Regions from separate parts of the Homo sapiens genome. Here region 2 is linked to region 1. Evidence: promoter capture Hi-C in human tissues and cell types (Jung and others, 2019). All regions are on one chromosome and are shown on one strand. The core of a region is centred on a gene start or on the middle of the fragment in contact, and the rest is flanking DNA. Distances in the headings are between cores, read along the strand shown. Region 1 holds the start of CLDN23 (claudin 23). Region 2 overlaps TNKS (tankyrase).

Evidence for each region. The method cuts DNA at HindIII sites, captures the fragments that hold promoters and counts their contacts. A contact is called where the count stands out against the background at its distance.
Region 2: a contact is called between a fragment that was not itself captured here and the fragment with the promoter of CLDN23 in region 1, in 1 of the 25 tissues and cell types used here (lymphoblastoid cells).

What each region holds. Positions count from the first base shown.
Region 1 is chr8:8,700,017-8,704,695 of GRCh38, reverse strand. CLDN23 (claudin 23) reads right to left here and starts at 2,759. Exons shown (of 1, transcript NM_194284.3): 1 at 600-2,759. The coding sequence starts at 2,297. The coding sequence ends at 1,419. RefSeq lists an enhancer at 1,966-2,933 and a silencer at 2,407-3,026. The HindIII fragment of the contact is 23,279 bases long and covers 1-4,679 here.
Region 2 is chr8:9,743,890-9,748,568 of GRCh38, reverse strand. It overlaps TNKS (tankyrase), which reads right to left. Exons shown (of 27, transcript NM_003747.3): 18 at 357-545. Among named protein-coding and RNA genes, the nearest start is that of MIR597, 4.6 kb to the right of the region's middle. The HindIII fragment of the contact is 6,105 bases long and covers 1-4,679 here.

The sequences.
Region 1 (4,679 bases), core at 1,510-4,009:
AAAGCCTGGCTTCAGAAAGAGAGAAAGAAGTGATTCCAGTACCAAATGGCAAGGGAAGTGAATCTCTGTCATCCCTTCCACTCTAACAGGCAGCATGTGCTATTAAGTTAGCCTCACTATAGCTATTATCAGTGCTTGCTGAACTGAATGAATGTTCCTACCTCTGAACGGCAGGTTTTAAAGAAGAGATTCAGTTCGGTTAAAGGTACCCTTAAATCAACCACTTGGAATTGAAGCCAGCCCTGCTGGAGACCCAGTCCCCTTCATGGAACACATAGCTGCCTTCCTGTGATTCTAAACACCACTGCTACAAAGGAAAAGATTTCCAGTCTCACCTCAAGTGGAAACTGGTGCTTCTCGTTTTCTCAGCAATAGACTTGGCTTTGCACAGAAATGGCATGAACCTAAAACCAAAGCAATCAGGGACTTAAGTGGGGCCCGTTGGCTTTTTTTAGTAACCTTATGCTAAGAGGTGCAAAGATTTGAGTGCTAGATTTCAGACACAAGTGCCGAGGCAGCCAGGAAATTGTTAGTAATGAATGTTTAAACTCCCAAACGTTGTACTGAAGACAAAAGAGCTTTTGTGGCTATACTGAAACTATTGTTTTAAAATTTTATTTATAAATAAAAGATATATACATATGTGCTTTAATATGATTAACAGGTTCCATTTTGTACAAAATGTTAAACCTAGAGTCCTCTGCGTCCTGGATGAGGCGTCCAAAGGGTGGAATAGTACAGCATTAGGACCTTTGTTCTCCTCTTGGCTTCTGGAAGAGAAACTCTTGCATGCCCTCGACTTTCACCGCAAAAATAAGTGAGAAAAAAGATAAATCCCATTTATGCAATGATATGTAGCTATGAGTTAATCACGGTATTTCATTCCATGAAATCCATTAAGCTGCTGGCATTTGCATGGCTCTAAGTTTATTTTAAGAGGCTCATTCAAACATGGCCAGGAATATATTGGCCTCTTGAGAGTTTGCATGGCAAGGAGTTATACAGCAGGAAAAAGAAAAAAAACCCAATAATTATATTGATGCAAGATTCATCAGTATTTTAGAATATTGTCGTTTCAACATGTTAAATTGTTTCTGAGCACTGCTGATTTCAGCACTGTCCCTGGTCCACGTGACGCAAATGCCACCCTTTCCATATATTCTTCAGCAAAAATATATGAAAAGCCCGTCACTCCCTAAGAGGACCCTGATCCCTCTGGAGAGGAAAACTAAACTCTTTAAGAAGAAAACCAAACCCAACCTGAACTAATCGTCCAAGGAGTCCTGTTTGGTCCCACGAAAGGCAGATTTCCATCCACACCAGTGAGGGGCAAGTGTCCGGGTTCCAACTCGAAGCCAGGCGGGCCTGTGCGGGGGTGAGTCCTTTGCCACCCGGCGCCCCCCAGGCTCTACAAGCGTCTAGAGGTCGGAGTCGCAGGGCAGCGAGCTGTCGCAGGGGTGGGTGCTGCACGAGGGAGCGTCCTGGGACTCCCACCCCTCCCCGTCGAGGACGTCCACCGAGTTGGTGTAGGCCTTGGGCCGCGGCCGCGGCATGGGGAAGCCGACCTTGGGCTTGGGCTTGGGCTTGCGGTGCTGGGCAGGCGGCGGTCGGTGCTGGCCGTCGCTGTAGTACTTGATGGCGGGCGCCAGGTCGGGCTCGGGCCACTCCACTTGGATGGTGCTGACGCTGCTGCGGCGAGGCCCGGCGGAGGGTCCCTTGCGGCGGCGGCGACAACGCTCGTCGCACCAGGGCGCGAAGCTGAGCGCCAGCGAGAAGCCGCCCAGCAGCAGGAGGCAGCTGCCCAGGTAGCCCAGGACCAGGCTGTAGCTGACCTGCACCGTGACCGGGCTGGCCGGGGCGGGCAGCACGTCGCGGTCCCCCAAGAAGTGGTTGTACCAGGACACCGGGATGAGGCCGAGGAGGCCAGCGACGAAGAGCACGACGCCCGAGAGCCCTGCCAGCACGAAGTTGGGCTCGTCCTGCCAGCAGCGCACGCCCAGCGACGCCAGCAGAAGCCCCAGGACCGTGGCGGCCAGCGAGGTGACCATGAGTGCCCGCGCCACCAGCACGGGCTGGGCCTCGAAGTAGCCCCACTGGTCCGTCTGGCCGCACTCGCGCTCGCGGCTGCTCTGCTCGCGACACATGTCCCACAGGCCCTGGTACAACTCCACGTCCACTGGCTGGTTCAGGAAGCCCTTCACCAGCCGCCAGCCGGGCGCCAGGGTGCCGGTCAGGTTGAGCAGGAGCCCGCAGGGCGCCAACACCATGCCCAGCGTCATCACCACCGGCGTCCGCATCCCGGCCCGCCGCGCCGACGGCGCCCCTGCAGCCTGCCTTCCTTCTCCGCTGTCGCCTTCTCCGCCGTCGTCTTCTCCCTGCCGTGCCCCAGGCTCCGGGGACCCGAAGTCAGCGCGGACGCCCCGGGCTCCGGGTCGGGCTCCTGAGCCCTGATCGCTCCAGGGACGCTCTTTGTCTCCTGCACGGGGACCGTCCCCACTTAGGCTAGTTCCCTCCTGGCGTCCCGGCCGCTCCGCCCTCCTACTGGCCCTAATCGAAACCAGCCCGCGGGCGGGTCTGACCGAAACCGCGGGTCCGGGCGCGGGCGCCCAGGGGCGGCTGCCGCGGCCAAACCTGGCCCGGGAGGGAGGGACCCGAGGTGAGCGCAGGAAGCGGCGGGGCCACCTCGCCCGCGGCAGGTGAGATGGGGATCCGAGCGGCGGGGACACCCCACCTTGCAGCCGGGCGGCTGGGCCACGCCTGGCCTGGACTGCTCACGGCCGGAGCAAAGGTCGCCCCGCCCCTGGGTCCTCGCGCCGCCCCGCCGGGCCAGGCGGGCGGTGGGCGGGGAGGGAAAGAGGCGGCGCTGGCGGGACGCGGTGGCTGCGCAGCTTCCCTGCTGCTCAGCGGATCTCGGTTCCTAGAATTTGTTTCCGGTCCCTGCCCGTCGACCCTGCGCTTATAGCTTAGCCCTTTACTCCCAGAGGGTTCCAGATCGCCCCCTGGTTTGCTCTGCAACTTGCAGCCACTCGCAGAGAAGTGGGCGGTGCCGAGCGCTCCCGGGGATTGGAGGTGCGCTGGGTGAGTGTGCAGAAGCCCACCCAGTCCAGGAGCGTGTCCCAGAACGTTGCACCGGATTATTTCCTTAATAAAGGCTCCACACTCTGGATTAAATTCGTCTCTAAAGAATCTGTGCCAGTGTACTTCTGGGCAGAAGGGTTACACAAGGATTTTACTTTCCTTTTTCAGCCTTGTGAGACTTTCAAGGGGACTAGAAAGAGGGACCAGTGTTCCCGGATGTCCTGCTTAGCGTTTTTTGCAGGTTTATTTAATTTTACAGTGTACTGTGGCCTTTCTCGTCTGTAGGTTATTTTACAACTCTATAAATTATAGAAAGCCTGTAGTATTGCAAATGACTTTTGCCAACATCAAGGCTAATGAGTTCGTCCCAGTGGAATGATTATTGTCCAATGGATACTGACCAGTATGGCATTGATTTGTAAATTCATTTTAGCATTCCTGTTTGTCTGTATATGTGTGTCCTTTTGTTCTTTGCTTTTTTTTTTTCCTTTTTCTTTTATTTATTTATTTATTTATTTATTTATTTATTTATTTTAAACAGGGTTGGGGAGTTTCGCTGTGTTGCCCAGGCTGGTTGCAAACTCCTGGGCTCAGGTGAGTCTCCCGCCTCAGCCTCTGGAGTAGCTAGGACTGCAGGCAAGTGGCCAGCTTCTTTGGTTTTAACATCATACTGGTTTCCTTATTCAATAATGAGTTAAATAACCTCTTTCACACATATTCATTTTATATTTGTGTGAAAGTCACGATGTTTACATTTTTTCTAAAAATTATCCTTTAATAACACTTTTTTGTATTTTCTAGATTTTTACAATGAAAACGTATTGCCTTTATAATTGTTTAAAATTAAAACTATTTTTAAAATTCAAGTTAATTTAGCATTGGTTTGAAATAATTTTGAATATTCCAGAGTGGACAACACTAGGAATGACAGTGACTGCTTTTTTTAAAAGAATATTTTTAAATTAAAAAAAAAACCTGTGGTAACATATATGTAACATACAGTTGACCGTTGTAACCATCTTTAAGTGTACAGCTCATTGGTATGACATACATTCACATTGTTGTGATACCCTCACCACCATCCACTCCTGGGATTTTTTCCTCTTCCCAAACTGACACTGTACCCACTAAACACTAACTCTCCTTTCCTCCCTCCCTCACAGGCCCTGGTGATCACCATTCTACTTTTTTCTCTCTATAAATTTAACTACTTTAGGTACCTCATAGAACTGGAATCGGACCGTATTTGTCCTTTCGTGACTGGCTTATTTCACTGAGCTTAATGTCCTCCAGGTTCATCCATATTGTAGCATGTGTCAGAATGTCCTTCCTTTTGAAGGTTGAATGATATTCTATTGTGCATAAATACCACATTTTGTTTATCCAGTCTTCCATCCATAGACACTTAGATTGCTTTTACCTTTTGGCTATTGTGAATAATGCTGTTGCATCATTTATGTAATAGTGATATATACATCACTTTTAATTTTTTTTAATTAAAAAAATTTTTTTTGAGATGGAGTCTTGCTCTGCTGCCCAGCCTAGAGTGTGACGGCAAAATCTCGGCCCACTGCAACCTCTGGTTCCTGGGTTCAAGCAAG
Region 2 (4,679 bases), core at 1,398-3,897, 1.0 Mb before region 1:
TTAGGTAAATTATCATGAACATTAGTTGCTCTACAATAACATGCCAAATATAGAAGGTACAAGATATTTTACTAAATATAATTCTTTGAGGGTACACTCTAAAAACATGTTTTCTTAAGATCCATGTTTTCCCAGCAGGCTAAGAATGGCAAAAAATTAAATTAACTTACTGTTTAGTTTGTCTTAAGAGTTTTAAATTATATTTTCATAGAAAAAGTGTGAACTTCAAAAATTTTCAGAAGATCTCTGTTCTAAGTGAAATAAACACGACTAAAAGTAAGCTGGTGAACCCGAGAATCTGATGTCATCTGTGAAAGTAGAAGGAACAATAATCAGTATCTGAAATGAGGACTTACTGTTGCCAGATCCAGAGGCGTCTGGCCTTCCTGGTTCTTCATGGTGGGGTCTGCACCATGCGCTAGGAGGAGGGCGCACAGCTGCGTCCTTCCTTTCTGGGCTGCTTCATGGAGGGGAGTAAACGCCCACTTATCTGTTGCATTTACACACGTGTTGTATTTTATCAATAAAGCCGCTATGTCAACATGCTGAAAAAAAAGAAAAGGATACAAAGAGTTAAGAATGAGATCATCTGGTAAAGCACCATTGTGTATACCTGTTTTTATTTAACAATTCACTCCTCTGTATCTCCATTTTCATCCTTAACAGAAGTTTCTTCTAAAAAAAAGAGTATTTCAGTCTTCTACTTACACTTTGGACTCCATCTTTTCTTGCCTCCTTCAAAATCTCAATTACACAATTATACTATTACCCTGTAACTGTTCATGGGCTTTTTTTCAAAAAATGCATCCCTCTAATATATTCAACTTTATTTTAAAAACAAATACTTTGTAAGGTGTTTCATTCTGTAAAGTGAAACTAGTACCTAATTCAAATCTTCTGTTAATGGTCTAATCTATCTGCCAAACTTTTCAAATATGCATTCTATTCACATTGATTCTCTTATCTTCCCATTTCTTTTCTACCTACTGCAATCAGATTTACTGAAATACTCATCTCAAAGATTCTCAATGTTTTCTCTTTAGCCTTTGAAAAAGCAACATAACATTTTATGAAAATTGGTCTGTTATGTCTAAATGATTGCCGGGTGGAGGAAATGTTAGCAGCAGACATGCTAATAACCTGGGCATGAGGTGATGAGACCCTGAACCATTGACAGTTACAGAAAAATGGAAAAGAAGGGCTAAATCTGAGAAATTTTGAAAGAAAAAAAATTGTGTTTAAAAGCCAAATTCACAACAGAAGAGAGAGAGAGAAAAGTCAAAGATGACTACATTTTTTTGAGGGGGGGAAGGAGGGGGGAATCTGGAAGATTAGAAAATAAGGTAGAACTATTAAAAGAAATTGAGTTGTAAAAGTTTAAGTAGGGGCTGGGTGCGGTGGCTCACGCCTGTAATCCCAGCACTTTGGGAGGCTGAGGTGGGCGGATCACCTGAGGTCAGGAGTTCGAGACCAGCCTGGCCAACATAGTGAAACCCCGTCCCTACCAAAAATACAAAAATTAGCTGGGCATGGTGGTGCATGCCTGTAATCCAAGCTACTCGGGAGGCTGAGGCAAGAGAATCACTTGAACCCAAAAGGCGGAGGTTGCAGTCAGCTGAGATTGCACCACCGCACCGCAGCCTGGTTACCAGAGCAAGGCTCCGTCTCAAAAAAAAAAAAAAAAAAAGTTTAAGTAGGTATGAAACTCTCAGATAAGGCTCACTGAGGTAGGCACCTTCTGAGGTAAAACATCAAAGTAAAGACATTGTGCAGATCGTTTGTCAGAAAAGGTTGGAGCACAGTCGAGGGGGCATCATTCACTTACTCACTCTCCCACCACTCACCTACCAACCAGCATTTGCTCAATACCTATGGAGGGCTGAGGACTGGGGCTGGGGGCTCCAGGGAGATTACGAAATGGAATAGGGGATTAATAGTTGTAGCTACTTGATAAATGAGCTCATTAAGGAAAGGAATACAGAAAGATAATTACAAGGTGGATAAAACCTTGAAAACAACAATATTTTGGAAAAGGAGAGTGGAAGAAAAATCCTCAGAGGAGACAAAAGGAAAAATGGAAGCTGGAGAAGAACTATAAAGGAGCAGGACTATAAAAGCCAATACAGAAGCAAGTTCCATGGAGACCAGGTTCACTCAAGCAAGAGCTCCACATAGCAAAAGGCTTCAGCTTCTTCCCAAAAATCCTTATAAAATAAGCTAAGACAATCGATCACACAATAGGCACTACTGATTCAACAAATAGGCTTTTTAAGAATATTAAAAATAACTTGTATATTTTTATAAATACATTTAGGATGTTAGGCTGGTTAGCACTTAAGTATTTCTGAGATCCATTTCAACTCCAGTATGCTATAATTTGGTGCAACTGGCACATTTGTGTCCCTTACAGACACATTTCTGGGCATAACTTGGTCAGTTTGGATAATTAACTCAAAAGCACATCATCTATTGAAAATAAATTTCTAACTCATGCTGCTGCTCGACTACCACACATTGAGGCTTTTAAGGAAGACATTTATGAGAATGGGAAAAGACAGGGAAGGCCAAGAAAGATCCCAAGATGCAACTTAATGCATGTCACTTTCTATCTTCCTTAAGATATCGTCTTCCCTGCACTCTTGAAGACACTCACTTCAAAAAGAACAGGCACTTTTTCTGAGGTAGTATTTAACTTTATGTAATATAAATATCTGTATTTCCTAATTTTAGAAATAGTAGTTTCTGAAAACAAAGTGAAGAACATTTATCTAAAAACAAAAGTACAGATCAGCCAACTACTAAGGAAAGCTTCCACATTTGCTCTAATAATACAAAGCAAAAAACGCCCCCAAAAACAAAAAATAGGCCAGGTGTGGTGGTTCAGGCCTGTAATCCCACCACTTTGGGAGGCCGAGGCCAGCAGATCATTTGAGGTCAGGAGTTTGAGACCATCCTGGCCAACATGGCGAAACCCCATCTCTGCTAAATACACAAAAATTAGCTGGGTGTGGCGCCACACACCTGTAATCCCAGCTACTTGGGAGGCTGAGGCAGGAGAATCGCTTGAATCTGGGAGACGGAGATTGCAGTGAGTCAAGATTGCACCACTGCTTTCCAGCCTGGGTGAAGAGTGAGATTCCATCTCAAAACAAAACAAAACAAAAAACCCCATAAACAAAAAATAAAATAAATAAGCAGCATAATCAGACTAAGTCTTCTCAGAACAGGATGTTTTGTGATTCTTCTGGGATTATAATATCACTATAAAATTAATTCTATAGCTTAATTATTTTTAAATTTTCTAACACAAAAGATGAAAACAGAGGTACCACTCGTGGTATTATCAAAATCACCTAAAACAAAACCAAACCTAGTAATTTATCTCCCTTATTCAAAGGCTATATGTTGAAAAAAGGCAGCAATTTTTGTTAAGTTAACCCAAAAGCACGGAATAATTTCAAGCTTCTCCCCAGTGAGGTTACAAGCTACTTAAACTGTGTTTCTGATGATTAATTTTATTGAACTCCCATGTTTACAGGCCGAATAATATAATCTGGTAGACTAATTTACACAGGCTTCCAAAATTACAAAAAGTCCAAGGAAAATTACCTGTTTCTGTATGTGTGTATAAAATGAATTGTATATCTGGTATGTATTATTAAGCTTTCTTTATATTGAAGTTATAGTTTATGCTTGGACAAACCAACTACATGCTTGTGAAATTTTCTGACAAATGTCTGAAAGAACAATGAACAGGAAGGAGTATATTACTACCCAAATAGACTAAAAATACAGTTCTTAAGCTGTTTAATTCTTTTAAATAGCTACACCATTGAGGCAAAAATAGTAACTGGAATTTAAGGCTGACAAATCCAATAAATAGCAGTTCAGTTCTATTCAACACAGTATATAAGAGCAAAGTATTGAACTAGAAGGTCCAGAAAAGAAACTGATCTCTGTTGGAATGTTTCCAGGAGAAACAGACAATTTAACCTAGTTTCAGAATCCAGCTGCAATACAAAATGCTTTAAATGACAAATACAACCTAAAAAGACTGGGAAGCTTTTAATTTTAAAAAGGTGGGAAGTAGGGGAAAGAGAAACATGCTTGGCTTCAGTTAAAGCCATTTAATTGTACAGAGGCTTTATTACAATTATGTCATGAAATTCCCCAAATGTTATCCATTTTAGAGAAAGCACTGGAAAATAAAAACAGTTGAGAGAAAATGAATCAGTCAATTGATTTACTCTTATAAGATATAAATTTACATGCTTTGTGGTAATAAGTATCAATGCCATTTACTGACTTAGCAGAAAAGTTAACTGTCTTGTATAAACATGTATTCAAATATAACACAAGGCATTATTATATAAAGAACACCGACACAGTAAGGCACACTACCACTAATATCAACTCTCATGCAACTTGTAATTTTTATTGATGCTTCTTAAATAAATATGTATTTTTTTCTCCATTTGGAAAAACTGAGGTTCTTTTTATACAAAAAAGGCTCAAAGACACACACAGAGCAGATTGAGCTCTCTAGGGGAAAAAAGTAAATAAGTATGAAGGAATAATGATCAATAAATAACTACATAAGTAAATAACTATGTAATTTCACAGCTACCTCAGATTATTATTTCATCCTCAGCCTAGTCAATTAATCTGTGTTTATTTAA